3 separate regions of the Homo sapiens genome follow, and all the other regions are linked to region 2. Evidence: promoter capture Hi-C in 16 types of primary human blood cells and fetal thymus (Javierre and others, 2016). All regions are on one chromosome and are shown on one strand. Each heading gives the region's core, a stretch centred on a gene start or on the middle of the fragment in contact. The rest is flanking DNA. Distances are from core to core; before and after follow the strand shown. Region 1 holds the start of SPAG5 (sperm associated antigen 5). Region 2 holds the start of NUFIP2 (nuclear FMR1 interacting protein 2). Region 3 holds the start of NEK8 (NIMA related kinase 8).

What was found. The method cuts DNA at HindIII sites, captures the fragments that hold promoters and counts their contacts. A CHiCAGO score of 5 or more calls a contact.
Region 1: a contact is called between the fragment with the promoter of SPAG5 here and the fragment with the promoter of NUFIP2 in region 2, in 1 of 17 cell types (naive CD8 T cells). The highest score is 5.9, in naive CD8 T cells.
Region 3: the fragment with the promoter of NEK8 here is called in contact with the fragment with the promoter of NUFIP2 in region 2 in 1 of 17 cell types (naive CD4 T cells); the score reaches 6.7 in naive CD4 T cells.

Annotation. Positions count from the first base shown.
Region 1 is chr17:28,597,233-28,601,443 of GRCh38, reverse strand. SPAG5 (sperm associated antigen 5) reads left to right here and starts at 2,419. Exons shown (of 24, transcript NM_006461.4): 1 at 2,419-2,548; 2 at 2,809-2,934. The coding sequence starts at 2,498. SPAG5-AS1 (SPAG5 antisense RNA 1) reads right to left here and starts at 2,311. Exons shown (of 3, transcript NR_040012.1): 1 at 2,198-2,311; 2 at 1,589-1,746. RefSeq lists enhancers at 1,909-1,988, 2,213-2,757 and a silencer at 2,199-2,508. The HindIII fragment of the contact is 7,511 bases long and covers 1-4,211 here.
Region 2 is chr17:29,292,151-29,296,603 of GRCh38, reverse strand. NUFIP2 (nuclear FMR1 interacting protein 2) reads left to right here and starts at 2,456. Exons shown (of 4, transcript NM_020772.3): 1 at 2,456-2,821. The coding sequence starts at 2,545. RefSeq lists enhancers at 2,088-2,287, 2,598-2,697, 2,391-3,151 and silencers at 2,858-2,977, 3,608-3,787. The HindIII fragment of the contact is 5,437 bases long and covers 814-4,453 here.
Region 3 is chr17:28,726,957-28,731,178 of GRCh38, reverse strand. NEK8 (NIMA related kinase 8) reads right to left here and starts at 2,391. Exons shown (of 15, transcript NM_178170.3): 1 at 2,319-2,391. The coding sequence starts at 2,365. It also overlaps a transcript of TLCD1 not described here. RefSeq lists enhancers at 1,791-2,514, 2,548-2,987, 2,515-3,238, 3,963-4,222. The HindIII fragment of the contact is 479 bases long and covers 2,191-2,669 here.

The DNA.
Region 1 (4,211 bases), core at 1,170-3,669, 700 kb after region 2:
GCCGGGTAGAGTGGCTCATGTCTGTAATCCCAGCACTTTGGGAGGCTGAGGCGGGTGGATCTCCTGAGCTCAGGAGTTCAAGACTAGCCTGGCTAACATGGTGAAACCTGTCTCTACTAAAAATACAAAAATTAGCCAGGCGTGGTGGCACATGCCTGTAATCCCAGCTCCTTGGGAGGCTGAGGCAGAAGGATCGCTTGAGCCTAGGAGGTGGAGGTTGCAGGGAGGTGAGATCGTGCCACTGCACTCCAGCCTGGGCAACAGCGCCAGACCATGTTTCAAAAAAAAAAAAAATTAGATTAAAAAAAAAAGTTTAAAAAGGCTGGGTGGGGTCGTTCATGACTGTACTCCCAACACTTTGGGAGGCTGAGATGGGAGGATCGCTTGAGCCTAGGAATTCAATACCAGCCTGGGCAATATGGCAAGAGACTGTCTTTATAAAAAATTAGCCAGGCGTGGTGGCACATGCCGGTAGTCCCAGCTACTCAGGAGGCTGAGGCAGGAGGATTGCTTGAACCTAGGAGTTCAAGGCTGCAGTGAGCCATGATTGCACCACTGCACTCCTGCCTGGGTGATAAAGCAAGACCCTGTCTCAAAAGAAAATTAATTTTAATGTATTTTATTTAACCCAATATTCCTAAAATATTTCAATATGTAAACAGTATTAAAAAAAAAAAATATATATATATATATTTTTTTTTTTTTTTGAGACAAGGTCTTGCTTTGTCGCCCAGGCTAGAGTGCAGTGGGATGATCATAGCTCACAGCAGCCTTGAACTAGGTTCAAGCGATCCTCCCAAGCTGGGATTATAGGTGTGTGCCCCCAACCCTGCCACCCCTGGCTTAACTTTTTTTTTTTTTTGAGACGGAGTCTAGCTCTGTCACCCAGGCTGGAGTGTAGTGGTGCCATCTCAGCTCACTGCAACCTCCGCCTCCCAGGTTCAAGAGATTCTTCCTGCCTCAGCCTCCCAAGTAGCTGGGATTACAGGCGTGTGCCACCACACCTGGCTAATTTTTGTATTTTTAGTAGAAACGGGGTTTCGCCGTGTTGGGCAGGCTGGTCTCGAACTCCTGACCTCAGGTGATCCGCCTGCCTCGGCCTCCCGAAGTGCGGGATTATAGGCGTGAGCCACCGTGCCCGGCCCAAATTTTTTTTTTGTAGACATAGGTCTCACTATATTGCCGAGGCAGGTCTCGAACTCCTGGGCTTAAAGGATCCTCCTGCCTCTGTCTCCTCCGTGCTGGGATTACAGGCATGAGCCACCGCACCTGGCGATATTTTGCATTCTTTTTTTCATACGACGTGTTTGAAATCCAGTTTGTACAGTGTTTTACATTTATAGCACATTCCCACTGGGACTAGTCACATCTGAAGTGCTCAAAAGCCACTATGGCTAGGGCTAACGTACTGGACAACACAATGCTAGAGGAGCCCGTCCCTGAGGACGCTGCAGTTTATAACATCATAGTTCCTCCTCTTTGGACTGCTGCTTTCCCCCTATGTATTAAGACTTGCAGAGTGTAAACAGGGCGCCGTGAGTGTGCAAAGCACACACACCTTCGCAAACGGCTCACTCTGAATACTGACCTTTCGGCTGTCCTACCTTCAACAGGTTTCCCGTGCATAGGAGATCCAAGACAGCAGAAGGCAGGAGCTGGCGGGACAGGGAGGAAGAGCGGCTCTGCCGTTTACTATCTGTGTGACGCTGAGCAAATTACACACGGTCTCTCTGACTCAGCTCCTTCCTGTCACAAATGGGGATATTTATAGTATTTCTCACTACGTAGGTCCTTATGCGCATTAAATGAGCTACTACACGGCATTCGGCATAGCGCCAGGCACACACTCAATGTTCAATACATGTAGGCGGTTAGCCCAGTAAACTGGTAGCCGGCCTGAGTAAGTCCCAGGAAAAGCCCAGAAACTCTGGAGACATTACAGCCCAGGTCGAGAACCACGGCCCGGGCCGTCCCGGACGCGGGCCCACCAAGCCTAGGGAAGCCGCTCGGCACCGCTTCGGCTTCTAGACTCCCTGGCCGGCTCTTTCCCGTCAAGGCTGCGGCTGGAGAGGACTGAGGGAGACCTAGGGAGAGGATTCCTCTTCTCCATCCACGGAGACAACTTGGATATGAACACCATGGATGTGAGGAGGTCCGCTGGAAGCAGGAGGGATGGACTCCTGGACTCTCCAGCTACCTGCGTGGTCCTCCCCGGTGTGAGGACAGAAGACCGGTCCTGGGCCGGGCCCGCATCCAGCCCTACCGCCGGTGTCTGAGGTGAGGGCTCCGTCAGCGGAAAACGCTCGACAACGGAGGGGCAGGCAGGGCCGGGGGCGTGGTCAACGCGGGCCCCGCCCCCCGGGCTCTACCCCCGAGCGTACGCGCGCGCCTGAAGCAGCCAACCAGGAAGCGCAGAGCAGGTTCAAACACAGACGGCGGGTGAACATGGCGTCCTCGACTTGGTCTGAGACGTGATAGGCCTGCCTTCTGGTTGAAGATGTGGCGAGTGAAAAAACTGAGCCTCAGCCTGTCGCCTTCGCCCCAGACGGTAAGCGGGAGATCTCTGGCGGAGAGAACTGGGCCGGGCTGCTGTCGCGGGGGCACCGGCCGTGTCTACTGTCCTGGAAAGTTGGGTCGAGCCCGGGGTTGGGGGCTTGTGGAGTCTTTGTTCGCCTTGCTGCTCCTGCGCGACTAGGGTGCGAGCGTACTCTTCTAATCGCATTTTGGGCTTCTTAGGGAGGGAGGAGGGGCGGGCTGGCAGAACCCAGGCTTCCTCACACTCGCCCTCTTTCTTGGTTTCTTTCTCAGGGAAAACCATCTATGAGAACTCCTCTCCGTGAACTTACCCTGCAGCCCGGTGCCCTCACCAACTCTGGAAAAAGATCCCCCGCTTGCTCCTCGCTGACCCCATCACTGTGCAAGCTGGGGCTGCAGGTGAGATTCGCCTGGACAGCTTCTCGACTGGGCTGTTTGCCCAGGGTGAGAGCTCAGGGGAACAGAGGGCCAGGGCTACAATAATTAATAACGATAATGAAGTCTTCTACGTCGGTGACATCCATTTACAGCTATTCAGGCCAACAGAGAGGTGCCCTAGGGTGGTTAAAGGAAATCCAGTGAGAACTTGAATCTCTGTTTAGCTGTTAGTTTTTATTACCTCCTCCTCCTCCCTTCGACCTTTATCAAACTATTGAGAAATCCTACCACCCTGATTAGTGCTCTTCCTCCAACATGGGGTCACTTACGGAAAGGTCAGTCACCTGCAAGATTGAGGCAATATCCATTTACTCTAGGAGGTAGTTAGAACTCTCCTGGGATCAAGTTACACCACTGGAAGGTAGGGTACTTGAATCACCTTAGTTTAAACTAGCTCCTTGCAGAATTGCCCTCACTGATTTGTACTTTTGTTAAACGTTTTGAGAGACGTAGCCATGTAGAAACTGCATTTCAGTTGCTGTCAAAACTTGTCAAGGAAGCAGCTTGACTCCTGTATAAGATTCCTCCAAGAAAGGCTTTAGGACTAACTGCCTGGAAAAATTGTCTTCCTGAAGAAATTGCTATCCTTTTCTTTCTGATAATGAGAACTATGTAGTTTACCATATTTTCCCTCTTGCTCTGCCTTCTAGAAAGCTCAAGGCCAAACTGGATCATCACATACAGCTACTGTTATAGCTGTATAGGAAGTTTTGCTTCCTCTTTTTTGACCATGACTTTGTTATTTCATTAATCGTATCTATTCATTTTCATGCATATGAATTATTTTTGGAAGGAGATGGGATATCAATAAAATAGGTATGAGGAGGAAAGAAGAGTGTATAGACAGATGACATCCTGAGTAACAGAAGTATGATGATAGCATAGCAGTCTTTCTTGAAAGAGTTGCAAAATACCTACTGTCCAATAGAACTTTCTGGGATGAGGGAAATATTTGATAATCTGTGCTGTCCAGCATGGTAACTACTAGTCACATGGTTATTGAGCACTTAAAACGTGGCTGAGGTGACTGAAGAATTGAATTTTTTTGTTTTTGAGACGGAGTCTTGCTCTGTCACCCAGGCTGGAGTGCAGTGGCGTGATCTTGGCTCACTGCAATCTCCGCCTCCAGGGCTCAAGCGATTCTCCTGCCTCAGGCTCCTGAGTAACTGGGATTACAGGTGCACACCACCACGCCTGGCTAATTTTTTGTATTTTTAGTAGAGACAGGGTTTCACAAT
Region 2 (4,453 bases), core at 1,207-3,706:
CCTCCACCTGGAGGGCTCAAGTCATCCTCCCATCTCAGCCTCCCAACTACAGGCACACACCACCATGCCAGGCTAATTTTTAAAAATTTTTGTAGAGAGAGAGTCTCTGTATGTTGCCCAGGCTGGTCTCGAACTGCTGGGTCAACTGATCTGCCATGGTCTCCCAAAGCGTTGGGATTACAGGTGTGAGCCACCACACCTGACCTGTTTTTTCTTTAATAATTGGGAACGTGGCAGAATATTATTCAGTGGTAAAGACTTATTGTGATATGATATTATTATTAGGGTTTTCATTCTCAAAATTGGGTAAATGTACCCCCAAAGAGGTTTTTCTTTAAAATTTAGCAAAGCTGGCTGGGCCTGGTGGCTCATGAATCCCAGCACTTTGGAAGGCTGAGGTGGGCAGATCACCTGAGATCAGGAGTTCGAGACCAGCCTGGCCAACATGGAGAAACCCCATCTCTATTAAAAATACAAAATTAGCCTGGCACAGTGGCGCATGCCTGTAATCCCAGCTACTCAGGAGGCTGAGGCAGGAGAATTGCTTGAACCCAGGAGGCAGAGGTTGCGGTGGGCTGAGATCATGCCATTGCACTCCAGCCTGGGCAACAAGGACAAAACTCCATCTCAAAATAAAATAAAATAAAATTTAACAAGGCAACACAAATCCTTACTGTATAGAACATGCCAAAATTTGGTCATGGTTTTCAGGATTCAATGACATTTGTTATTGGAAACCAGCTTTTACGTTTTAAATAAGCTTTTGCATTGACATTCATTAATTTCATAGCATAAACTTTTTGCTTTCAAGCTTCTTGTTCCTTTAATGTTGTCCTGTTGTAGGAATTCAAGCCACATTTTAAAAATTCAAAAACGTAACATACATTGAGGAAACAGTCCATATGTCCGTTGCTGAGTGAATGAACAAAATGTGGTATATACATATAATGGAATATTAGTCAGCCTTAAAAAAGAGGGAAATTCTGATGTATGCTACTCTGAAGACATTATGCAAAAAAGCTAGTCACAAAAAGACAAATACAGTACAATCCCACTTATATGAGGTACCTAGAATAGTCAAGTTCGTAGAGACAGAAAACAGAACAGTGGTTATCAAGGGATGGAAGGAGGAGGGAAAGGACATTTATTTTTATTGGGTATGAAGTTTCAGTTTGGAATGATGAAAAAGTTCTGGAGATAGATGATGGTCATGGTTCTACAACAATACGAATGTACCTAATGCACCTGAACCATACACTTAATATTAAGATGGTAAATTTTATATTATGAATATTTTACAATTAAAAAAATCCCCCAATCTATAACATACATTGGGAAAAGTGCATTTTATCTGTATATTCAGTTTAACAAATAATTACTAAGCAAATATATGTAATCACCACCTAGCCCCCAAAATGAAATATTATCAGAGTAACCTGTGTCCCTCCCCATCACAACCCTCTTCCTTCCTGAGTAACCACTATCATGGCTCTAACATTTGCTTTTGAAAATCATATACTGTGATGTGGTAATGCAGGATAAGTTAAATCTACACTACAAAACGCTACAGAATATTTCTTTTAATTTCAATTTTTCCATAAGTGCCAAAAAAAAAAAAAACAAACCCACTTAATAACTTTTAAGTGCTCTTTCTCCCCTTCCTTTGCTCTTGAAACTTCTCATTCTAAAACCTATTTTGGTTCCACAGTTGACCTCACCTGCAGAGTTTAATTAAAAAAAAAAAAACCTTCAGTGTAAATTTTCATTCCTCCTGCTCTCCCTTGCCTCCAACTACAAAGAAACAATGATTTAAACCCTTTGTGCCCTTTTAGAAAATTACACAGATACCCCATTGTGGAACCCTATAATCCCTTCGTGGAAAGGAAGAGATTAGCATATGAATACAAAGCAAAATGAATCCAGAATACAAAATGATCTACTGGATTGTGAAGCTCTTGTATGCTTAAAAATGTATTTATTTCCTCTTTTTGTATTGCCCCTTTAGTGGTCTCGGGGTTAAGGGAATTGAGCTTCCCTTTCTGGTTACCCGGAAAAGGATTAAAAACAAAACAAAACAAAAAACAAAAAAACACCAGATTCTAAGAGGTGCAAAGCCAGCAGATGGCTCACAGCACCAGTGGAATCGCCAGTGGAATCTGCTACCCTCGACACGAGCCTGCTTGCCGGCGAGGAGTGTAGAAAGTGCTGTTCACAGACTGCGTGGTGAAGGAGAGAAAGCGACAGAAGAGAGAGCCATAGTGCTGACGTTGAAGGCCCGGCCCTGTGAGGTTGCACAGGGTAAGTGGCGTTGGCCAGGCGGCAGCGGCGAAGGGGAAGGAAAGAGGATTTGAGCTGGGGGCGGGGCTTGCGGCACAGCGTGGCTCCTGATTGTTGGAGTGCGGCTGCCAATCTCGCAGAATCGCTCGGTTAACCAGTGCGCTGGCGAGACGCGCTCAGATATACTGAGTGAGCCCTGAGAAGCAGTCTCAGATCCTGACGGTGCAGCAGCCCGCAGCCTCAGCCAGGGAGTCCCAGCCGCTTTCAATGGAGGAGAAGCCCGGCCAGCCACAGCCTCAGCACCATCACAGCCACCACCATCCGCACCATCACCCTCAGCAGCAGCAGCAGCAGCCGCACCACCACCACCATTATTATTTCTACAACCACAGCCACAACCACCACCACCACCATCATCACCAGCAGCCTCACCAATACCTGCAGCATGGAGCCGAGGGCAGCCCCAAGGCCCAGCCAAAGCCGCTGAAACATGAGCAGAAACACACCCTCCAGCAGCACCAGGAAACGCCGAAGAAGAAAACAGGTCTGGGAGGGAGGACGGGTGGGGGAAGGGGGTTGGGGGTGGAGGACAGGAGAGATGGGGGTGGGGCTGGATCCGAAAAGCGCGGACGGGGTCGGGGTGTGTGTGTGTGTGTCCCCTCCGGCTCTGGGGATGCCCCTTTCATTCTAGAGCTCGGGCTGAGCAATGGGGTTTGCAGCGCCCTCTCCTTCCCTCCAGCATGGGAGAGGCCCAGCCAGGCCAGCGTGACCTTCCTGGCCCCGGCCCCGGCTGAAGGGAGACCTGCTGGGTCGGCCTTGCAAGTCCAACCTCATTATTCTTTTCCCATTCACCTCCCTGCGTCCCTGGAGTTACCTCAATTTGGGGGCCCTGAGATGGGGTAAACCTACCCCCCCAAAAAATCCCTCGAGGTGTAACTCAGGAAGGCCTAGCGAATCCCGACTCGGATGGTGTCGCGAGACCCTTTTGCAGGCGGCGAGGAGTGGGTAGGTAGGGTGAGTTGAGGAAGTGCCCCTCACCCGCCACCCCAAGCCCACCTGTGGCCTTGGGGCTCCCCGTCTCGGTGGGGGGGGCTGTTGGGACCCCTCATCTCACGGGTCATTTCCACCACTAAACGCCCTTTTTGGGCGCCGGACCCCGCAGTCTTGTCCCGCGGCTCCTCCCGAGGCCGGCGCCCCGCGCCCGCTCCCCCCAGAGCCGGCGCGGCTGGAATGTTCTCTCCTCCTCGCGGGGCCGCTTCCTGTCCGCCATGTTGGAAGCCGATTCCTGTCACCGACTCCGGCCCACTGAGGAGCGGAGGGGGAAGGGTGTCGAGGGCCACACGGGGCGGCGGAGCCGGGTGACCCGGGATCACCACCGGCCGCAGCCTCGCCCCCTGCACTGCGGGGGCGCCGGCGCCCCCCGCACCGCGGCCGCCCCCCCCCCCGTCGCCGGCCGGGGTTGTGTAACCCGGTGGCGGCGCGCGGCCCCGGGCGGGTCCCTGGGGTGAGGGGCGGGGGCGGTTGGGGTGGGGGAGGGAAGCGGCCACGAGGGGAGCGGCCTGCGCAGGGCCCCGCGCGCCAGCGGCCGCGTTTCCCGCTCCCGGGTGCGGCGGGAGGCGCGGGCAGTCGGGGCGGGGAGCCGGCCTCGAAGCGGAGCTGAGAGGGAAGGAGGCCGCGGGCGGCGGCCGCGGCGCTCCTAGAGGCAGGAGGCCTGGGGGGGCGGCGGGGGGATTCATTTCGGGTAGAGGCGGTGCCTGAGGCCGGGTGGGGTACCCAGCGGGAACCCAGCTCCCCGGTCACGAGTTTCTCTGCCACAGGAACCTCGTCTCCTGCCAGGTTCGCTCACGACTCCGCCTCTGAGGCTTTCACTTGGGCCTTTTCCTTCTAGCAGCTCATTTTCTACAAAAAAAAAAAAAAAATCCAAAAACCTTGTTCCATTCCCCTCCCGACCCAGCACTTACCTTCTGAGCTTGGGTAGTGTCTTTGAGGTGAGGGATTTTAAAAAATGTTAGGATGGGGAAGAGTGCGAGCTTTTTGACCCCTCTTTCTTGTCCTTAAGGGTGAACCCAAGTGGCTCATCCATGAGGTTAGACTACTACCATCTTGCCTCGGATGAGGCTTCTCTCCGTGTTAAAAAGAAAGGTGTTTTTCGTATTTTAAAATCGATATTGATCCC
Region 3 (4,222 bases), core at 1,142-3,641, 570 kb after region 2:
TGCAACCTCTGCCTTCCAGGTTCAAGCGATTCTCCTGACTCAGCCTCCCAAGTAGCCGTCACAACACCCAGCTAAATTTTGTATTTTTAGTAGAGATGGGGTTTCACTGTGTTGGCCAGGCTGGTCTCGAACTCTTGACCTCAGGTGATCCAACCACCTCGGCCTCCCAAAGTGCTAGAATTACAGGCCTGAGCCACCGTGCCCGGCCCCTTCTTTCTTTCCTTTCTTTCTTTTTTTCTTGTATTATTTCTTTTTTTAGATAGGTTCTCACTCTGTCAACCAAGTTGAAGTGCAGGGGTCTCATCTCAGCTTACTACAGCCTCCACCTCCCATGCTCAAGTGATCCTCCCACCTCAGCCTCCTGAGTAGTTGGGACTACAGGCACATGCCAATGCCACCATACCTGGCTAATTTTTTTATTTTTTTGTAGACAGGGGGACTCATTGTGTTGCCCAGGCTGGTCTCTAACTCCTAAGCTCAAGCAATTGCCCATCTCGGCCTCCCAAAGTGCTAGGATTATAGGCGTGAGCCACTGCACCCTGCCCCTTTTCAGAAAACTCTGCCAAGTCTCAGGATCACTCTTCCTCTTTAAAACCCTTCCTGGTGGCTGGGAGTGGTGGCTCACGCCTGTAATCCCAACACTTTGGGAGGCAGAAGCAGGTGGATCGCCTGAGGTCAGGAGTTCGAGACCAGGCTGGCCAACATGGTGAAACCCTGTCTCTACTAAAAATACAAAAAATTAGCCAGGCATGGTGGCACACGCCTGTAAGGCTGAGGCAGGAGAATTGCTTGAACCCGGGAGGCGGGGCTTGCAGTAAGCCAAGATGGTGCCATTGCACTCCAGCCTGGGCAACAGAGGAGACTCTGTCTCACAAAAAAAAAAAAAAAAAAAAAAAAAAAATTAGCCGGTTGTTGTGGCGTGTGCCTGTAGTCCCAGCTACTCAGGATGCTGAGGCAGGAGAATTGCGTGAACCCGGGAGGCGGAGATTGCAGTGAACTGAGATTGCCACTACACTCCAGCCTGAGCGACAGTGCAAGACTCCGTCTCAAAAACAAAAACAAAAACAAAACAAAACCGTTTGTGGCAAATGAACCTTTTATCTCAGGTTATCAGGCCATAATCTAGTCCCCGCCCTCGACAATTACATTTTATACCATTCTCTACCTTGCCCACTACATTCCAACTATTACTAGTCTTTCTCGGTTTCTTGAATGCTCTGTTTTCCCATGTGAGACATTTCACATACGCTATTTCCTTTGCCTGAAAAGTTCTCCCTTCACCTGCAGACTACTGGTCCTCATTCCTCAAGTCTTGGCCTTAAATCTCACTTCTGGCCTGTCGCGGTGGCTCACGCCTGTAATTCCAGCACTTAGGGAGGCCGGCGCGGGCGGATCACCTGAGGTCAGGAATTTGAGACCAGCCTGGCCAACATGGCGAAACCCCATCTGTACTAAAAACACAAAAAATATTAGCTGGGCATGGTGGCGCGTGCCTGTAGTCCCAGCTACTCGGGAGGCTGAGGCAGGAGAAGCGCTTGAACCAGGGAGGCAGAGGTTGCAGTGAGCTGAGATAGTGCCACTGCACTCGAGATCGCGCCACTGCGACAGAGTGAGACTGCCTCAAAAAAAAAAAAAAAAAAAAAAAATCCAAAAAATTTAGCCGGGCATGGTGGCGCACGCCTGTAATCCTAGCTACTCGGGAGGCTGAGGCACAACGATTGCTTGAACCCAGGAGGTGGTGGTTGCAGTGTGCCAAGATCGTGCCACTGAACTCCAGCCGGGGTGACAGAGGGAGACTCTGTCTTAAAAATCAATCAAGCAAGCAAGCAATCTCCCTTCTCAGAGAATTCTTCCTTGACCATCTCATATAAGTATTCTCACTGGTAATGTACTCTATCCTCACAACCTGCTAATAACACTTCATAACTGCTATAACTTCTTACTTCATAATGTTTTGTTTATTGTATAACTTTCCCACAGTCAGTAAGTTCCAAGAGGGAAAAGACCACGCCCGTTCCGGTTCTAACTATATACCCAGCGGCCAAAGCCTGACATACATAGCTGGCACTCAGTATTTGTTGAACGAATGAATAAAGAAGCTAACATAACTCAGTGGGCGGAGCAATGGGCCTGTCAGGGGCGTGGCCTCCGTAGAGGCGGAGTCTCCCCGGGGGACTGGGACCGGAAGCTTGGGCGGGGCTTCCCAGAGTGGCGCTCACGCCTTGGGGCGGGATTAGGCGGGCGGCGACTTCGCGGGCGGAATTGGGGCTTATTTTCCCTATCCCCTAGCAGTTTCCTCCCCCAGAGCCCTGGCTCACCCGAAGGCACCTCTCCCCACCACTCGGATCCGCTCGTACTTCTCCATCTCATTTCTTAGAGTTTCACTTCCGTCCCCCACGCGGCGCGTGCGCGGACCCACCCACTCTGGGCCCCGCCCCTTCACGGCGAGCGGCTTGCGGGGCGGAGCCAGCGCCCTAGGTGTGGGTTCCGCCACGCGTCCGTATTTGTGGGCCTGCACCACACACCTCCCGCTGCGACACGCCGTCACTTTTCCCCTCACGACCCTGCCCCACGCAGTGTCCAAGAATAGGGCAAGAAAATAGGGCGCGCCCGCAATGGCGGGCACGGTACCCGCCCCTCCCACACATATACCCAGCCCTTGTAAAGCTTGCTAGACTAAAAGGATGTCGCGTTCCCGAGAGTTAAACCCCACAGGCCGGGAAGGGGTGGGAAGAGAAGATTGACCCCCTTCTTGCCCACGAGTGACGCTATTTCAGGAGAAAGCGGGTTCTCCTTGGCACGCAAACGATAAACACACCCAAAACGACCGAGACCAGCGCTCCTGGGAGAAGGCAGCAGGGTTGGTTTCGTGTTTGCCTGGGGAGGGACGGGGGAAATCCCAAGTCGTGCAAGTTGATTCACCTGAAGAGGACATGACACGGTCTCGGGCCGTCCCGACTAGTGAGCGCCGCGCTCGTCAGCACTCTCAACTCCCCTTTCACACACGCGCTGCAGGAGGGTAATCTGCCCTCAGTGCTCATCTTCCCATGGGGGAAGATGGGGGCGGTAGTGGGTCAGTACCTGAAAGCATCAAGGGGAGAAGGAAAGACCGCGGTTTCGCCGAAATGAGCTCAAGGCAAAAGCCTAGAGGCAGGGGGCTGGTTAGTGTGACCAGCTAGGCTCTTTACCGGAAGTGAGGTTAATTCCAGGTTCTCCCGGGCTCCTGCTCTGCGGGAGCTCTAGAAAAACTCAGTATTCGGCCAGGCGCGGTGGCTCACGCCTGTAATTCCAGCACTTTGGGGAGGCCGAGGCGGGCGGATCACCTGAGGTCAGGAGTTTGAGACCAACCTGGCCAACATGGTAAAACCTCGTCTCTACTAAAAATACAAAAATTAGTTGGGCACGGTGGCGCGCGCTTGTAATCCCAGCTACTCGGGAGGCTGAGGCAGGAGAATCGCTTGAATCTGGGAGGCGGAGGTTGCAGTGAGCCGAGATCGTGCCATTGCACTCCAGCCTGGGCGATAGAGTGAGCCTCCATCTCAAAAAAAAAAAAAGAAAGAAAGAAAACATCAGTATTCAGGAGGAGGATGGTCACTAGCTGAAGGTTAGCGTCCCTGTATCAGAGTGGGCAAGGGGTGTGAGGAAAGGGGCGTTTTATCTTCTGCCCCTGTCCTGGCTCTCGCAAGGGTATCCAAACCCACCCACGTGGAATGACTGCTGGAAGGGCGCTGGCTCAGGCCGGTGTCGGCCGGCGGACAGAGCAGCTCTGTGAGCCAAGGGGAGGGGCGGGAAAGCCGCTCACCCAGGACACCCGTGTTCTCACCTAGAAACCGACTGGGCTTTGGTTGACTTAAGAGTCCCACAGGGGTTAATGTGTAACCTTGGAGCCATAGGGGAGGAAAACACTCAAACGGCTTGGTCCCTGGGTCCTTGCGCCTCAGGTTTTCTCGGCTTCTTCCTCCCGCCCGCAGCACCTTTCCCCTCCCCCGCTTCTTCCCGCCCCTCCTCTATTACTACCCTCTTCTCCCTCCCCGCTCTCATCTCCGCTTAACTTCCCTCGCTGGCTCTCAGCTGCTCCTCCTTTCGCCCAGAGTTTATACCTAAACTCTCCCCGAAAGCAGCTGCCTCGCTCGGAGGCGGGAGGGGGAGCCCGCGCCACAGTGAGGGCAGGCTGACACCTAGTGGCTAGGAGCCGCAACTGCTGCAAGCTACCGGCTTGGAG